3 separate regions of the Homo sapiens genome follow, and regions 2 and 3 are each linked to region 1. Evidence: promoter capture Hi-C in 16 types of primary human blood cells and fetal thymus (Javierre and others, 2016). All regions are on one chromosome and are shown on one strand. The core of a region is centred on a gene start or on the middle of the fragment in contact, and the rest is flanking DNA. Distances in the headings are between cores, read along the strand shown. Region 1 holds the start of MTX3 (metaxin 3). Region 2 overlaps MSH3 (mutS homolog 3). Region 3 holds the start of JMY (junction mediating and regulatory protein, p53 cofactor).

Region 1 (3,217 bases), core at 342-2,841:
TAACTTATCCATTCATATAAATCTTTACATGTTTAAACATTTTGGATACATAATTCTCTACTGTTAAAACATTTAGATACATTATTCCATAAAACTGCTATTAAGAGCTTTTTAAAAATAATATAGTTGCTAGTTGGTGAGAGCTCAGGTGTCATGCCCAGCACAAAATGTGTACCAACTATGTGACAAAATACACAATCCTATCAATAAGTTTAATAGTGAAAATGGCTAATTAAATCTACTTACATACAAATTTCAATAAAATTCAAGCAAAGTTTATTAAAATATAAACTGACTACCTCTTCATATGACTTTCAAATCACAGAACTCATGCTTTAGAGCAGTGATTCTCAAATCTATTTTTACATCTTGTCCCAGGTATCTCCAATTGTCTAATGAGTTGGCAAAAAAAAATAAATAAATAAAATAAAGCCCAACATGCAGGGATCAACAATCTACCAATCTACTTCTTCAAAGTGAACCACCCACCTGTTTTCTTAAAAAGTTTAGTATTTTTGCTGGCTGAGAAACCATGTCGTCTTCAGTTGTCAAAATTGGTACATCGCCTATAATCAAAAAACAGTTTACATACAAGGACACAGTGTGATTTCCTCTGAGAGATTCCAATATCCTAAAAACTATAGCAGTTGCACATTTAGAGGGGAAAAAATGAGTAAGCTTGTCTTGGTTTTTTTGCTGTTTCACAAAGAGCGGTTCTAAAGAACATTTTCGTTTCTCATAATTTCCAGTGATTTCGCTTGCACTTTGAGGTATTACTCAGAATGATCAAACCATAAACAACACAGAGCCAAGGTCACGGTAAGAAACTAAATCCTCAATATTATAGCTATATACCTCACAGCTTTAAATGGAAGAAGAAAAAAAAGAGTGCAGAAAGGGGAGTGTAAAGGTTTACACTATACCTCTTGAACCTCTCCAGGTGTTATCTATCACATTGACTTTCAAGGGTGCACCAGAAAATTTGGCATAAGCCTGAAACAGAGTTTGCAATCAAACATTTTAGACCAAGTGCGTAATGCAAAGCTGCAGAGCAGCTTTACTTCACAGCCCCATCCCCCAAAGGCAGAAGGCGACTGATACTGAGGCCGCATCCCTCCCCGTGATCTCAAGTAGGGACGCGGGCGCCAGCCACCCGGCTTTCGAGGACTTTGCTCCCCAAAAGGTCCTGGGGATGCAGAGTAGGGAGGGCGCGCCCCTTGCTTCGGGGTTTCACTCCACCGCCCAGACAGCTTTGTGAGGCGGACAAAACTCGGAGCCAAGCGGAGAAGCCTTGATGTCGCCGCCGGCCTTCGGCGGGGGTATCGGCCAGGTTGGGACTCGTCGGTGGGAGGGAGCCCAGGGCAATGCAGCGTGCAGCGGCTCGGCCCTCCTGGACCCCGCAGCGCAGCGGGAAACTGGGGCAAGTCAGCCTGGCGCCTCCAGCCCCGCCCCTTCCTCCTGCGCCCTGGCCCGCGAGGCGGCCTCACCATCACCACCAGGGACTCGCTGTGAACCGATGGGAGTCCCCAGCCGCCTCCCCAGCAACTGAGTTCCAAGGGGGCCGCCATCTTGCGCGGGCCGACCTTTACTATCCCGGAAGTACTTTTCCTCCTAATTTCCGGCACGTGAAACGCGGGGGCGTGGCTAAGGGAGGGAAGGGTAATTTGGGGGCTCTTGAGAGATGAGAGAAACAACGACTGGAGGGATTAAGAAGAACTCTTAGGAGCAGCTTGGCCTAAAGGGTAAGAGTTGTGTGCCTTAAGTCAGACCCACCAGTAATTCTTCAAATATTAATATTTATTAGATCCCTAGAGTGTTCCAAACCCTTTGAACATTAAATCTGTGTGATGCCTAAATTAACCTGTTTGTAAAACAGGGATGACCCAGTATTTACAAGATTGTGGTATTTACAATGTCGGAGAGAAAGAACTTGGCACACAGGAGGCACTCAGTAATTGTTCAACCCCTTCTCCCATGTATGTGGCCTCTGCCTGCCTTTCCAGCCTCAACCTGTTCTCACCCTCATGTTCACTGGCACAACCCTGCTTAAAAGTTACAGTATTTCTGAACGTCAGGTAAATTGTGCCCACCTTCAGTGCTGGTCCTTCAATCTGGAATATCTTTCTTCCCTATGCAGCTGCTCCCTCAAAAATGAGCTTAACTCACCTTCCCTGTGATGTTTTTACAAAGTTAGGAGCTCTGGGTTCTTGTAGCCCCTTGTGCATATTTGAATTGTAGCTTCTCTCCCTAGCTACAGACCTTTTGCCTTTCACAGAAGAGGGCTAGCTTCATAGGTTTGGGACCTGTGCAGCCACACAAGGCTCTGTGCTTAAAAAGGCTCCTCATTTGGCTGATGCTCTTCCGTCACTGTCTTGAAATTCTTAAGTTTTGAACAAGGGGCTCTGCATTTTTATTTTGGACTGGGCCCCTCAAATCATGTAGCTCGTCATGTCTGTGGGCCTAATGAGCACAGACTAAATGTTTCTTGACGTTAAACCTGACAGTTTCTCAGAAAAACTATTAAAGAGGAAATTTTGGTCTTGGAAATGCTATGATCCAAACATATGACTGGGTCTCAGAGTTAGAACTTGGGTGCTGGGTCTTTTTTCTAGAAGGCACAGTAGTCTTTCTGGGACACCCTCGCAGTCATGCCTCTGAGTTCTTTCCTCTATTCCACTGAGATGGTCGGATCTTCTTAACTAAAACTCAAAAGAAACCTCTGCAACTTTTCGTAAAATTACTATTCAACAAATATTTGCTAGGCACTCCCTTACTGTTTACATAATCATTCAAATTACAGTGCCAGCCTGCTAAAGTCTTTTTTACATGTTTCAAAACCAAGAGTTCTAAGAAATGAAAAAGAGATATGTCAGAAATGAGAATTCATTAATAATAACTGTATAATTGGAAAATGCATAACATATGTACCATTAAAACTGTCGAAACATTTATTGAGCAGCTCCTATGTCTTAGACATCATAAGGTTCTGGAACAATACAGAAATATATAAAACATGAATTCTGTCCTCGGGAGTTTACAGTGCACAAAGGAGATATACACACACCAAGGTGTAACAAGTCAGATAATCACGAGTAGGGTTAGAAATATAAGCAAAATACTACAGAAACACAAAGGAGGGACAGTGCATCCTCTGTGTGATCAGTGGAGACTATCTGTTGAGTCTTCAGTATAAAGAAAGTAAAGTAATTCAACTTTC
Region 2 (3,213 bases), core at 626-3,125, 680 kb after region 1:
GCCTTCCAGGTAATTCTGAGGTATTGCCTGGATCAGGAGCCCTTGACTTGGAGGGATTCTTTATTGAGAATTAATACAAGCACAGTTTCTTACAGTCTTCCTTAGAGTTTCCATGATTACCGTGGAAAATCATGATGGGCAACTTAGATATTTTGAGGTTTCAGTTGAAAGCTTGATAGATAGAAAGTAAATTCAAATGTAAGCCAAATGAACATGGGCTTTTTACTTTATCCACTATTTGTTTTGAGACTTTTAATGGTTTTCATAACTGCAGAATCAGGGAATTTAACTCATGCTCCATCATTGAAATCTGTAATTCAGAATAGTGATTGGTTCGCAACCTTAGCTTTACATTGGAATCACCTGGAGAACTTCAAACAAAAATTGCCATTAAGAACCTTCCCTCAGAATCTTATCTAATTGGTTTTCACTGACAAATGGGCATGGATATTTTTTAAAAGTTTACATTTTATTTTGTATTTTATTTTTATTGATGGAGTCTTGCTCTGTTGTCCAGGCTAGAGTACAGTTGTGCGATTATAGTTCACTGTAGTCTCAAACTTCTGGTCTCAAGCAATCCTCCCACCTTAGCCTGCAGATGAGGTGAGACTAAAGGAAAAGCAGTCATTTTAATCTGTAGCTGTGATTGACAACCATTGAATTAGAGAAATGGTTCTATATATGTATATGTATGTGTGTATGTATATATATGAGTCATTGAAATTCTAATGAAAGCTGTTGGCCTTTTTCTTCAGAAAAATTCTCAAGCCAACAAAATTTTGCCTATAATTTTCAAGATTTCACACCTTTCCCACAAAGCCCAGATCCATGAACTCCTCCCTCAGCCAGGCTAATATTGATTGACTTATCTTAGATCATCAAGAAAAAAAAGGTGTTTTTGTTTTTAGTCTCTTTTAATACTTAGAAGCAGTTCACCTAAGTATAGTGGTTATTAAGCATAGAAGTCATAAAGTTTATCCATTAAAGCTCACTTTATTGATAGGAGCATTTACTCCAAGGTCTCAGAAGAGCGTATACATTATTGCTTTATACATAGAATGACCAACTTGGCATGTCCACATCACAGGAAATTAGAAGTAAGTAGACAGAGGGGGCACGTAGAAGCAGTGCCATTATTACAGGTGATAAGCTGTTTGATGGCATGGATAGACGTGGATGAATGGCAAAAAGCTACTGAGTGAACATAAATGCCCCATGGTCCAGGACCATTAGGGTGGGGTCAGCAATGCCATAACTCTCAATAGGTTTCGAAATATATTCTGATCACTCTGAATTGTCCAGACAAGGTTAAATTGAGTTCAGCATACTGTCTCTGGGAATATGAAATAGAATGTAATGTATCTGATGAGTATTTCTATCCAAATCATTTTTTTTAAAGTTGCTTATTTTGTTACCCAGGTATTAATATGTACAACAAACCCTCATGACACAAGTTTTCCTATATAACAAACCTGCACATGTACCCCTGAACTTAAAATGAAAGTTAAAAAAAAGTTGCTTAATATTCAAGTATTTAGATTGATTTAATTGTTAGCATCCCATAAGGATAAAACTTTTTTTTCCTGGAAGCTTATCTCATTTCCTAAAAGAATAAAGTATAAAGTAAGAATAAGTTTTTACAATGTAAGAAATATATTTTCTGTGTTGATTAACTTTTATACTACATAGTATATACCTGCATTTAATATAGAATACATACTATATTCCATGACATAAAAGTCATGGAAACAAAATAGGAAACTCATCAAAATTAAAAGCAAAGGCATTCTTAGGTATAGGAAAATTGTTATGCAATCCTTGGGGTGTTGCTTCGCCAGCTGTAAACCTCTGTGGCTGGTGGTGCCTTTGCCCGAGTTTTTACTTGGGCCTGCTGGGCTCATTCCTCCCACTCGGCCTGGCAGGCTGTGCTTGGCTTTTGCTTTTGGCCTGAATCTCGCAGCTGCCAAGGGTGAGCCAGGAGTGGAGTGGTGAGGGTGAGGGGTGTGTGAGCAGGTGACCATGGGGTCTGGCCCCTGTGCACTGCCAGGCATGCTGGCTTCGGCAGGGTGGGCAGCTCCAGGTGCCAGCGTGAGTGAGGGCTGGACCAGGCGTACCACAAACAGCTTCCACAGCTGGCACCAGGGAACACAGTGGCGCCCAGAAGCTTGGAGATTCCAGGAACTGCAGAGCCCCAGAGAGGGTGTCATAGACCTGGCTTAGGAGCCCCTAGGTCTGAGCTCCCCAGAGGTCCACAGCTCTTCTCTCCTGTCTTCTCTCCTTCTTGTTGCTGCAATGTGGCAAGCAAGAGATGGGTTTCAGGCCTGTTTGTGTTACAGCTCTTTTAGCCCTGCCATTCGGTGGGTCCCAGGTTCTTGTCCTGCTTCCAGGAAGAATGAAGTATGTGGACGAGTGGAGGGTGAGCAAGGCAAAGAGGGGCTTCCTTGAGTGACAGAACATTGAGGGGAGACCCGCAGTGGGTGCTTCTTTCTGCAGGCAGGGCATCCCATCAAGTGAGAAGTGATGAGCCTTCAGCCGAGAGGGGACCCTGGAGTGGGTAGCTCCTCTCCGCAGGCAGGTTGTCTGCTTGTCTCTTCAAGTTTGGCCGAGTCTGGGGATTTGTATGGGCTTGAGAGGAGGAAGTGTGTGCTGATTGGTTCATGGGCTGCCATGGGCGGGCTCAGAAAACACCGTAAGTTCTAATTCTGGTTCGTCAGCCTGGCCCCCAGGCTTCAGGCTGTTCCTGGCTTGAAGGTGGGGCTTCACCCGGACCTGACCCTTTCTGCTCAGGAGCCTGTCTGCCTCCTGCCGTCATCCATGGCACCCAGGCTGTTTGTGCCATGGGGCACCTGCAGGACAGCTCTGAGCTGCCCTCAGCCCTCTCCTTGGCCTCCTTCCCATGTTCATCAGTGTCCAAAGTCCAGAGGGGGCCGAGGCAGCAGGGGGCTGGCATGTTAGCACTGCCCTGAGCATGTGCACACCCAGCCAGGTTGCAACAGTTCCTAGGCTTGGCCTTAACTTTGAGATCAGAGTGGGTGCTGGGAGCTGGGAGAGGCCAGGCAGTCGGAGCAGGTACTTCTGAGCCTGCAGAGGGAGGGGGAATTCCCTTTCTGGGCCCTTGAGATTGCAGAGATGCCCGGGTCCACAGCCACAGCTTGGGTGGCTGTGGCTGCAGCTGCACCCAGGAGGGTGGGGCTCCTGCCTGCTCCCAGCCCC
Region 3 (3,223 bases), core at 623-3,122, 760 kb before region 1:
TTTTTCTTTTTTCTTTTTTGAGGTGGAGTCTCTGTCCCCCAGGCTGGAGTGCGGTGGCATGATCTCAGATCACTGCAACCTTCGCCTCCCGGGTTCAAGCAATTCTCCTGCCTCAGCCTCCCAAGTAGCTGGGATTACAGGCACGTGCCACCACACCCGACTAATTTTGTATTTTTTATAGAGACGGGGTTTCACCATGTTGTCCAGGCTGGTCTTGAACTCCTGACCTCAAGTGATCTGCCCACCTCAGCCTCCCAAAGTGCTGGGATTACAGGCGTCAGCCACCATGCCCAGCCCCGTAATTCAGATTTGAAATGGGTTTTCTCTCTTTTTTGCCTTTCAGAACGTGTCTCTGACTTGCATTTGAGATTTGACACAAACTCAGTTACAAACTTTGAAAATTTGTGGTTTCAAATAATGAACTGTACAAAATGTTAAAAACCAGCTGGGCTCAGTGGCTCACGACTGTAATCCCAGCACTTTGAGAGGCCAAGGCGGTCGGATCACCTGAGGCCAGAAGTTCGAGACCAGCTTGGCCAACATGAAGAAACCCCGTCTCTAATAAAAATACAAAAATTAGTCGGGCTTGGTGGTGTGTGCCTGTAATCCCAGCTACTTGGGAGGCTGAGGCAGGAGAATCGCTTGAACCCGGGAGGCAGAGGCTGCAGTAAGCTGACATCGTGCCACTGTGCTCCAGCCTGGGCCACAGAGTGAGACTCTGTCTCAAAAAAAAAATTTTTTTTGGCTGTTTATTCAAATATCAGGACAATACTGAACCAAGTGTTGAAGCTTAGAGTTTAAGATGGACAATACTGAACTAAGTTTGAAGCTTAGCTAGTTCAGTACTGTTCTGTCATCTGAATAAACAGCTGTTTTTACTGAACCTAACAATACAAGGCTAATCCAAACGGTTTTGTATATACTTTAGAAATGTGAATAAATGTAAAAGAACTAATTTCCATTGTGCTTTACTATGGTGCACAACATCTGTGACTTGAATACTAATCGGAAAAAGAATGCCAATAATTATTATAAAGTCTACTAATTTTAAGAATGTGTTTCATCATAGTTTAGTAAGAATAGCAGAGATTGATATGACTGTTTTTGTATATGCATTCTGGGAACTCCCATAATTGAATACAACTTCAAAAGGGCTAAAGCCCAGTGACCTCAAAACGAGGTTCACAGAACAGTACATAATGATGAAACCTGAAGCAATAAAACACCAATGAACTGAAATGTAAACATTCATGCTGTTAGGACATGGCATTTTCATTTTTCATTTTGTTTTGGACTGTTACTGGGCTTTCCTCAGACACCTTCCTTTCATATATTAAACTCTGTCTTTCCAGAAAAGCTTCTGGAATTGTTTTTGTTTTTTGTTTTGGTCTCAAGGGCATTAGGGGAGAACCTAACAGGCTGGGGGCGAGCCCCACATAGTTCAGCACACCGTTCCCCGCGGCAACACGCTACTTCTGAACGCAGGAGCGACTCTCCGTCCGGGCTCCCTCCAGGAGAATGGAGGCAAATGTACATTCGAGGGTCTCAATACCTGGAATTCGAAACGTCTCAGTTCCTCCGCCTTAGTTCCTCTTTTCCCGGGTTCGGAGGCCACCTGTGCAGCAGGGCACACCTGCCACTCTCATCGCCCTCGGAGCCGGCAACCAGCCGACAGCCGGCTCCAGCCCCGGGGAACTGGAGGCTGCGCGGAAGGAAGGAGAGTCGGGAGCGCGGCCGCTCGCGGGCTGGCTCAGGGGACGCCGAGAGGAGGCGCCGGCGCGCGCGGGCGGGGTGCGCGCGCCGCCGCCGCCGCGTCACCAGCGTGCGGCACGTGCCCATGTTTACGTCCCTCGTGGAGCCGCCGACGTCAGCAGTCGAATGGCAACATTGTGGCGATGCTGAGGCGCAGAGTTTAGGAGACGGGTTCATCAGTCAGGCCGGCTCCGGGCTTTCTGCAGCAGCACCAGGGGCGGGGGCGGGGATCTTGACCTGGGCGAGCGACCGGGACGCATACAGCGCCGGCCTGACCCCGCGGGACCCGCGCCTCACCACCGGAGCGCCGCAGACGCAGCTCCACGGCCTCGCGCGGGGGGCGGCGGGCGGCCGCGAGGCGCTGCGGCAGCGCGGAGCTTGTAAACAGATCCGGCCGCAGGTGACCATGTGAACTACCTGCTCCCGGGACGCTTATTGTCCTTCTCTCGATCCGCGCCACAAAGGAGCTCGGCGGTCGGGGCGCGGAGGGACAGGCGAACGAGCCGGGAGAGCCGGCCGGCGCACTAAGATGGCTGAAGGCGCCCGGCGAGGGTGAGCGGGGGGCGCGGCGCAGCCAGCGGGGAGTCCTCGGGCGGGCCGGGCCGGCGGCCCTTCCCCGCGGCGAGAAGCCGGAGCCACCATGTCGTTCGCGCTGGAGGAGACGCTCGAGTCGGACTGGGTGGCTGTGCGGCCCCATGTGTTCGACGAGCGCGAGAAACACAAATTCGTCTTTATTGTGGCCTGGAACGAGATTGAGGGCAAGTTTGCCATAACCTGCCACAACCGGACGGCCCAGAGGCAGAGGAGCGGCTCCCGGGAGCAAGCGGGGGCGCGAGGGGGCGCCGAGGCCGGCGGAGCTGCGTCCGACGGGAGCCGCGGGCCCGGCAGCCCGGCGGGCAGGGGTCGGCCCGAGGCCACTGCCTCTGCAACTCTGGTTAGGAGCCCCGGGCCCCGGCGGAGCTCGGCCTGGGCGGAGGGCGGCTCTCCTCGGAGCACTCGCAGCCTTCTGGGGGACCCGCGGCTGCGGAGTCCTGGCAGCAAAGGGGCGGAGAGTCGTCTTAGGAGCCCAGTGCGGGCCAAACCCATCCCGGGTCAGAAAACATCTGAAGCCGACGATGCGGCGGGGGCAGCCGCTGCAGCAGCCCGGCCGGCGCCCAGAGAGGCCCAGGTGTCCTCTGTACGGATAGTGAGCGCCTCTGGGACGGTCTCCGAGGAGATAGAGGTGCTGGAAATGGTGAAGGAGGACGAGGCACCTCTGGCGCTCTCGGACGCGGAGCAGCCGCCGCCCGCCACCGAGCTGGAGTCTCCGGCCGAAGAGTGCAGCTGGGCCGGACTGTTTTCTTTCCAGGACCTGCGCGCCGTGCACCAGCAGCTGTGCTCGGTGAACTCGCAGTTGGAGCCGTGCCTGCCGGTGTTCCCCGAGGAACCTTCGGGCATGTGGACTGTGCTGTTTGGGGGCGCCCCCGAGATG

The links. Contacts are between HindIII fragments. The CHiCAGO score rates a contact against its expected background, and 5 or more counts as called.
Region 2: a fragment that was not itself captured here is called in contact with the fragment with the promoter of MTX3 in region 1 in 1 of 17 cell types (total B cells); the score reaches 5.4 in total B cells.
Region 3: the fragment with the promoter of JMY here is called in contact with the fragment with the promoter of MTX3 in region 1 in 2 of 17 cell types (naive CD8 T cells and fetal thymus); the score reaches 5.6 in naive CD8 T cells.

What each region holds. Positions count from the first base shown.
Region 1 is chr5:79,989,671-79,992,887 of GRCh38, forward strand. It overlaps MTX3 (metaxin 3), which reads right to left and starts at 1,592. Exons shown (of 9, transcript NM_001363818.2): 1 at 1,488-1,592; 2 at 924-993; 3 at 490-566. The coding sequence starts at 1,568. It also overlaps a transcript of THBS4 not described here. RefSeq lists an enhancer at 1,090-1,259. The HindIII fragment of the contact is 4,262 bases long and covers 677-3,217 here.
Region 2 is chr5:80,665,588-80,668,800 of GRCh38, forward strand. The region is part of intron 3 of MSH3 (mutS homolog 3); the gene reads left to right. Among named protein-coding and RNA genes, the nearest start is that of DHFR, 12 kb to the left of the region's middle. RefSeq lists enhancers at 2,004-2,571, 2,572-3,140. The HindIII fragment of the contact is 574 bases long and covers 1,589-2,162 here.
Region 3 is chr5:79,234,259-79,237,481 of GRCh38, forward strand. It overlaps JMY (junction mediating and regulatory protein, p53 cofactor), which reads left to right and starts at 1,873. Exons shown (of 11, transcript NM_152405.5): 1 at 1,873-3,223. The coding sequence starts at 2,393. It overlaps LOC124901011 (a long non-coding RNA gene), which reads right to left and starts at 1,765. Exons shown (of 2, transcript XR_007058836.1): 1 at 1,553-1,765. RefSeq lists silencers at 1,775-1,824, 1,865-1,914, 1,945-2,384, 2,555-2,824, 3,108-3,223 and enhancers at 2,327-2,963, 3,015-3,223. The HindIII fragment of the contact is 5,598 bases long and covers 1,356-3,223 here.